2 separate regions of the Homo sapiens genome follow, and region 1 is linked to region 2. The links are contacts of gene promoters, found by promoter capture Hi-C in blood cells and fetal thymus (Javierre and others, 2016). All regions are on one chromosome and are shown on one strand. The core of a region is centred on a gene start or on the middle of the fragment in contact, and the rest is flanking DNA. Distances in the headings are between cores, read along the strand shown. Region 1 holds the start of PDS5B (PDS5 cohesin associated factor B). Region 2 holds the start of SPART (spartin).

Region 1 (3,442 bases), core at 304-2,803, 3.8 Mb before region 2:
AGGTTGCAGCGAGCCAAGATCGCGCCACTGCACTCCAGCTTGGCGACAGATCAAGACTCCATCTCAAAAAAAAAAAAAAAAAAAAGAAAGAAAAAAGAAAAAAAAATTCTTGCTTTCATCCTGGCTTTCTTCTGAAACTTTCTGGCTTCCTGGCTTTGGAGGTTTGGGAATTGAAGAAAATAAAGTAAAAAACATAATAAAAACAACCAAAGAGGAAAGGTTTTTCTAGATCTAGACATCCTACTCTCCCATACAAGATTTATGTTGATGGAACAACGATGTAAAATAAGAAAATTCCTGAGATAATTTTAAAAAGAGGGCAGAAAAAACTCATAGTAGACTTCATCGAGGAATGTATAAAATGGGTAGAACCTGGAGTATTCAGTGGCAAAATCTTGGACACAGGAATACAGTAACACAACATATTGGTCTAGCAAGCACTGGAGGAGACTGAGGCGGAATTGTCCAGCGAATCCCACAAAAATGGAAATGAAGAGGTCTCAGTATCTCTAGGTGCCCGGGTCCGATGGAATACCGATGTACATACCTTTTCTAACACAGTAGCATTAGTTTATATATCAGCATTACCTCTCTTTTGTTTCAGTTGATAAGTATCCTACTGTAATCCATTCATTCACACTTTGCTTGTTCATTGTTGAAACAAATTCTCCCTGGAACAAAATTCTAGTAACCAAATACATCATATCAGGGGAAACTTCCTTACAGCAGGGATGGTATTAAAGTAAAAAGAGGAGGAAGTCCCTTCTTCAGCTCTGGCAGGGACCCGGCTGGGGAGGAAACCTTCCCGCAAGGTAGGTGATCTGCTGTGGTGACCAGGCTAAACCCACTCTACAGCTGCAGGAGGGACTGGCATCCCTTAGAGGTGAAGAGGGGAGGAGACCCACCTCCTGGAATGTGTCCCTGTGGTCTCCAGATGATTTCTTCCTCTAATAAGGACAATTCTGCCAAAGGAATGGAATGCTTCGTCACAGGCTCAATTACTCTGTCTCCGCCAGCCTACCACCTATAAACAATTCCTCAAATTAGGAAAGCGGGGAGATTTAATAAAGACATAACACGTAAAGTGTAGGAAAACTATTTGTATGGCATTCCGAGACGACTAGGTCAGAGTTAACAAGTAAGGAGCAAAGTAGTTAATAATACCAATTCTGTTTACCCATCACAACACCTGTGCTGAATGTCAGGGTTTAAAAAAATCTCCCAACCTTTATCTAAAAAGATAGGGCTACGTAACAATCGGTGTGGTTTTTGTCGGTAGAGGTCTAGGAAGCCGCAAGAGTAGTGGACGCCTTGACAGCTGCCCTTCTCGCGGGCCCCGCGGCGGCGTGCCCGTGTGGTTGCGTGCGCGCGGACGGGGCGGGGCTGAGGAGGGACGTGCGCGCGCGCGGACGGGGCGGGGTGGAGCTCGGAGGGCGGACGCGCTCGGGGCCGTCTGGTCGGCAGGGGGCGCTGCGCACCCATGCCGCGCTCTGCCTGCCCCCGGGTGCTGTCCGCGGCGGTTCGATTGGAGCAGCCGCCGAAGAGCGCTTGGCGCCATTTTGAAGCGGAGAGGAGGAGGAACGGCAGGGCTGGCTGCGGAAGGGGAGGGGGGGGGAGAAGGCGATTGGATGCGGCGGCGGCGGCGGATCCCGGAGAGCCCCGGAGTGAGCGGAGTAGCGAGTCGGCAACCCGGAGGTAGGAAACAATTCAGTTAACGGAAAGAAAATGTCTCTCTTCTCTGGCTGCGGCGCTCCATTTTTCAGCGGCCGCCACTGCCGCTGTGTGCGTGTGTGTGGCAGGGCTGAAGCGCCGCCCGCCTGGGTGCCAGGCGCGACTCGCCTCCCGGCATCGGGGGCTGCAGCGGGTGGCTGCCTGGCGGTGGCCCGGGGCGGGGGTCGCGGGGCGCGGGCCGGCTGCGCGGTGGGGGTGGGGAGGGCCCCGCGGCCGGCGCGCGCCTCCACGCCGCGGGTTCTGCCGCAGCCTCTGGAAAATTAAACTTGCCGCTCTGATCCCGGCCGGGGCGGCGGCGGCGGCGGGCGGTGACCTTGCGCGCGGGCGGGGGTCTCGGGGCCGCCCGGCCGCCCGCGCCCTCCCGCCGCCGCCGTCGCCGCCGCCGCGCCCCTCCCCCCGCGCCCCGGCCGGCCGGCGGCTGTTTCCCGGGCGGCAGGCGGGCGGCGCGGTGCTCCTGTTGAATCCTCCCGCGGGCGGGCTTCTCCCCCTTCCGGGCGAGGGGCGGGCGGGGACCGCGGGTCGGGGCCGCGGGCGCTCTCGCCCCCGCCGCCGGGTCCCCGCGCGCCGCCTGGCCTCCGCTTCGGGCCAGGGGACGGGCTGAGCGTGACATTTTTGCACTGTCCCTCGCCGCTCGCCGGAGGGAAATCGCGCTCACCGCGCCACCCCGAGTGGTCCCCGAGCAGCCAGTTGAGGAAGAGCCCAGCACTGGCGTGGAGGGACTCCTCCCAGGCCACAACTGGGTTCTAGCTTTCCTTTCAGAAGGAACGGCGGGGAAAATGGTGTGCAATTGTGACTCGTTATTGTTTTTACACTGTTATTTTAATGTTACTTTAAAAGTTTTCGGTCCGGAGAAAAACCTTGTTTGTTGTTGTTGCTGCTACTGCTGTTGGTTTTTGGTAGAGACGTGAAAGCTAACTCTTAAGTAGCTCGACAGTTATTTTGGACGAATGACTGAAACCAGAAACGCCGCCCCTCGCCTTCGGAGCTGCAGGCTGCTGCGTTCCTTGCCGCGGACGGGGCGAGCTCCGGGAAGGGTTGGTAGAGCAGCTACCCACCCACTCCACGCGCGTCTTCAACAGCCTCTCTCCCCCAGCGAGGGTTAACCCTTTTTTATGTCGAAGAAAGTGCTTCTCGTACTTTTAATAAGAGGTGATGGATGGGCAGTGGTGCCCAGACTGATCCTACCCTGTTGATGAAATAGTTTCGAAAACTTTGGGTATAGCCTTAATTTAGAGGGTTGGTCTGCGGTGTGGAGAGAGTTGGGTAATCCTATACTATCTTCCTAATGAACTTCAAAAACTCAAGTTGTGTTTACATACAGGAGGCGAGCTGTAAATAAATCGTAATTACCCAATGCTTGAACGGCAGTATAGTCATTGTTCTCAGTTAACACATCCCGAGTTCCCAGACAGAACGTTTTTTATATTAACTCATGTAGTGGTCAGGTAAAGTAATTAAAAGCCACAAATATGGACTTGAAAGACAGCTCTTCATGCAGTACACATGTCTGAGATGTTCGCATCTTTAGGGACAATAAAATGAGTATTCAATGGTGTATGCAGGTCAGTTCGTGCAACAATTAATCTTGTATCTCATGGTGATAGCAGAAAACCTAATTAAAATTTGTAGTGCTGAATATGTAGGTGAAAATTACATGGGAACTTTTATGTGAAGATAGATTTAGTCTCAGAAACTTAACTGTAAAAACACA
Region 2 (3,627 bases), core at 881-3,380:
ATATTTACCTTGGGTATACGTTTATTTCTAAGCTTATTTTACATACGGTGTGATGAAAGATTTCCTAATAATGTGTCAATGGAGGGAACAAGATGGCTACTGAGAAAGAAGAGTGTGCCTGTGTGTAGGGGTGGAGTGGGAGGGCTAATTCCACAGGATTGCTTAATAACCTTCCTTGCTACATCTCCATCTTAAAGAGAAAAAAAGGATACACGAGAGAAGAGCCTGGGTATCTAGAGGTTATATATAAGTCTAATGGTCAATTTCAGTCTAATCTCTGGGGAATCTCAACACAGAAAGAAAAAGGTTTATATTAAAATATCACATTTTTATTTTGTGACTGGGATTTGCTATATCCTCAGCGGTCTCAGAAAATACATTTTACAGAAATAAGGATTGGAGGATGGTGACTTAAAAAAAAGCCTATTCTATTCCTAAGCACAATTAAGTGTCAATCAAGTGTCCTGAAAAGATAAAAACCATTATCACATTATTTCACATTATTTAATTTTCAAAGTTAAGAAGACAAAGTCTTTGAAATGACAATCTGATGTATTAAACAGTACCTACACCAGTGTACAGTCTTCAACAACAAACCAAAATCTGTTCCGATACCAGTAGTTCACCTAAATTCTAATTTTTTAACGTTCTAATAAAACACATTTATTTCAACATAACTACATGTATGTCTGTGTATGTCTTAAAAAATACCCGAGAAAAGGTAAAATTCTGCATTAAAATACCTAGCAATTTAGTTCGATTCCATAAACACTGAAAGAAGTAACACTCTCACTTAACAGTCAACATTACAAGCAGTCTTTAATAATACCGCATTTAACTCCTTAGAGCTAGCACAAGTTGATCTAATGCCTATTTGGCCCTTTACCAAAAAAGCGGAGGGGGCTTTGTCTAACACCTGTATACACCTCCCTCCGTAGCATCCCGCTCATTCTAGCTTCTTAGGGAAACCATAGACAACGACGTTTCAGAGAGTGCCAGAGGTGAAGCCGACCCGAAACCACATTACAGAAAGGCTTCCTGTTTCAAACAGGTCCAATAAAGCCACCAAATTAAGTCTACGATTATAAAGAACTGCGAATCAGAAAATAATTCCATATAGGTGCAGTCTTCTATTACTTTTTTCCCCACTTTCGGAAATTTCAAAGAAAAATTGCTACATTCTTAAATATGAGGCCATTATTTCAAAGGCTGTAACAACCTGGAACGCAAATTCGTTAAATTATGATACAATAAGGCCAACCTCGAGGATCCTCGGTGGACTACTAGCGCACTTCCTTACAATTAGAAAGTGAAAAACTGGGTCAGCCCTAGAGTCACGCAATAATGCTGCGTCACGAAACTGCGCATTCCAAGAGAAACTTTTCTCAGGCCCAGAATTAAGTCGGAGGGATCCGCCGCGCAGCTCAATCCCTAGGAAGCATGAAAGAATGTATTGTAAAGAGTAAAATCACGCGCAATCCATCCCAATATAACCGCAGTTGTTCGTGGGCCTTCTTGCAGAGAAAGGCTGCCCAACCTTGACGGGGCCATGGGCGCTGCGGGAGGGCAAAAGACCACAGAGATCTGCGAAGCCAAAGTAAACAACGGGGTTGGGGCGGCGAGAATGATCAATAGCGATGCTCCGAAAGGACTCCGCGATAGGAATCGAGCGGGAAGGATTCCCTCCATCCTAACAGTCCATGGGTTAAGAGGCCGAAGCTTCCCTAAATACCACACTCCCGCGAGAGAAGGGACTGAGAACAACTTCTCAAACTATTCTCTCTCGAAATCGCTCCCTTCCTCGAAAATTCCATCTCTGAGACTCGGATGAGGTCCCCACCCCCTCCACCCTTGTCCCGTGACCGTCGCCCGCTCAGCCTCCCAGCCGAGTCCGCGGGGCCTGGGGCGCCCACCCCGCCCACCCAAGGGACCGCGCAGGGGTGAACTCCCCCGCGCCCCACCTGCGCCTTCCAGACCTCGGGCGCCCCGGCGTTGCCTCGAGAGCTCCCTGCGCGGCCGCCGCGGCACGGACCAGCTCCCACTCCCTTACACTGGGCGCCGCTGCGCTCGCCGGGGGCCGGTCCCGAGGTTCCCAAGGCCTCGCGCGCGCGCTTGCCGTGGCAACCAAGACGTTCCACGACGCGCGCTCTCGAACGCTTCGCGTCACGCGGCCGCGCGGCCCCGCCCGTCGGCCTCGCTCCCGCCACAGAGCCCGCAGCACGCCGCCGCCGCAGCCTAGGTCACGTGAGTACCCACGCGCGCGTCTTGCCAGCGGATTCATCACCGGCCTGCTCAGACTAGGTTCTGCCCACTCTGACCTTCTAAATGGTACGTGGGAGGACGTCCGTCCCCTTCGGACCCAAGAGTCACCGTAACACTCTAGAAGGGGAGAAAAGGAGCGAGGGCGGCAGGCGACAGAGAACCTCGCGAGTCAGCGGCCCCGCGCAGACCCCCCCAGGCACGGTCCCCTGCGGCCACGTCGGCTGCTCGGCGCCTGCGCAATCTCTTTCTCTCCAGCGAAACCGAGGCCTCCGGAGAGCCTAGTAGAGAGTGTGGGCAGTGAGCGCTTGTAGCCGCTAGAGGGAGCGCTGGGCACAGTGCACGAGAGACAATAAAGGCTGATTATCCCCTCAATGTCTCTGCAGCCTGAGCTTTGTGACTTCTGTATCCAGAGCACAGTTAATTTCCAAAAGCCCGCCTGCACCACGTGTTTTAAGTCTTGGTGTGTGTGTAAAGTCTATATCACTATCATAAAACTGTTAGTTCCTGATTCCGGGATACAAAGAGTAAAATCAAGATGAACATACTTTACCCTTCTTGACAAGTGTTTTTAAATTAGTAAAATATTGTAGATGACAGACTCTTCAATAGGGCTGCCTTAGGGAAAAAAAAACAGAAAAAAGAAAAAGCAGTATGTACTTGCCCGGAGCATTTAGAACCAGTTTTGTTGTTGTTGTGTTTTTGTTTTGTTTTGAGACAGAGTCTTACTATGTTGCCCAGGCTGGAGTGCAGTGGCATGATCTCGGCTCACTGCAACCTCTGCTTCCCAGGTTCAAGCGACTCTCATGCCTCAGCCTCCAGAGAAGCTGGAATTACAGCTGTGCACCACCACTCCCGTCTAATTTTTGTATTTTTAGTAGAGACGGGGTTTCACCATATTGGCCAAGCTGGTCTTGAAAGCTTGACCTCAAGTTAGCCAGGCTGGTCTCGAATTCCTGACCTCAAGCGATCCACCTGCCTCAGTTTCCCAAAGTGCTGGGATTACAGGCGTGAGTCACCGCGCCTGGCCTTAGGACCAGTTAAGTGACTCCCTCAAATCTCAGAAAGGTAGCAGTCAGTCATCCCAAAAAGCAAAACCTATTAGGAATATATTAATACAGTGGTTTCAAAATGATTTTGCTCTTATACCCCCAAAGGAGTCCCCAAAGACTATGACTGTATTCTCACTTCCACGTTTTTGGATTGACCATCACAATTTCTCATCTGACTTAAATAGTTACAAAAGAAGCAACTTCTGTTTTATTATAAATTAACATTTTAAAATAAAAGTTATATAACTTTTAAATGTAGCCAGTGGAATCTAAATACCAATTTAATATCTAAAATCATCAATTTTTAAAACTACAT

What was found. The method cuts DNA at HindIII sites, captures the fragments that hold promoters and counts their contacts. A CHiCAGO score of 5 or more calls a contact.
Region 1: a contact is called between the fragment with the promoter of PDS5B here and the fragment with the promoter of SPART in region 2, in 6 of 17 cell types (monocytes, total B cells, total CD4 T cells and 3 more). The highest score is 8.4, in monocytes.

The regions. Positions count from the first base shown.
Region 1 is chr13:32,584,899-32,588,340 of GRCh38, forward strand. It overlaps PDS5B (PDS5 cohesin associated factor B), which reads left to right and starts at 1,554. Exons shown (of 35, transcript NM_015032.4): 1 at 1,554-1,695. It overlaps PDS5B-DT (PDS5B divergent transcript), which reads right to left and starts at 1,547. Exons shown (of 3, transcript XR_001749808.1): 1 at 1,479-1,547; 2 at 906-1,024; 3 at 120-671. RefSeq lists silencers at 1,239-1,608, 1,619-1,698, 2,119-2,368 and an enhancer at 2,599-2,658. The HindIII fragment of the contact is 4,434 bases long and covers 1-3,442 here.
Region 2 is chr13:36,344,264-36,347,890 of GRCh38, forward strand. It overlaps SPART (spartin), which reads right to left and starts at 2,131. Exons shown (of 9, transcript NM_015087.5): 1 at 1,962-2,131. SPART-AS1 (SPART antisense RNA 1) reads left to right here and starts at 2,168. Exons shown (of 5, transcript NR_045181.1): 1 at 2,168-2,244. RefSeq lists a silencer at 1,980-2,029. The HindIII fragment of the contact is 1,461 bases long and covers 1,718-3,178 here.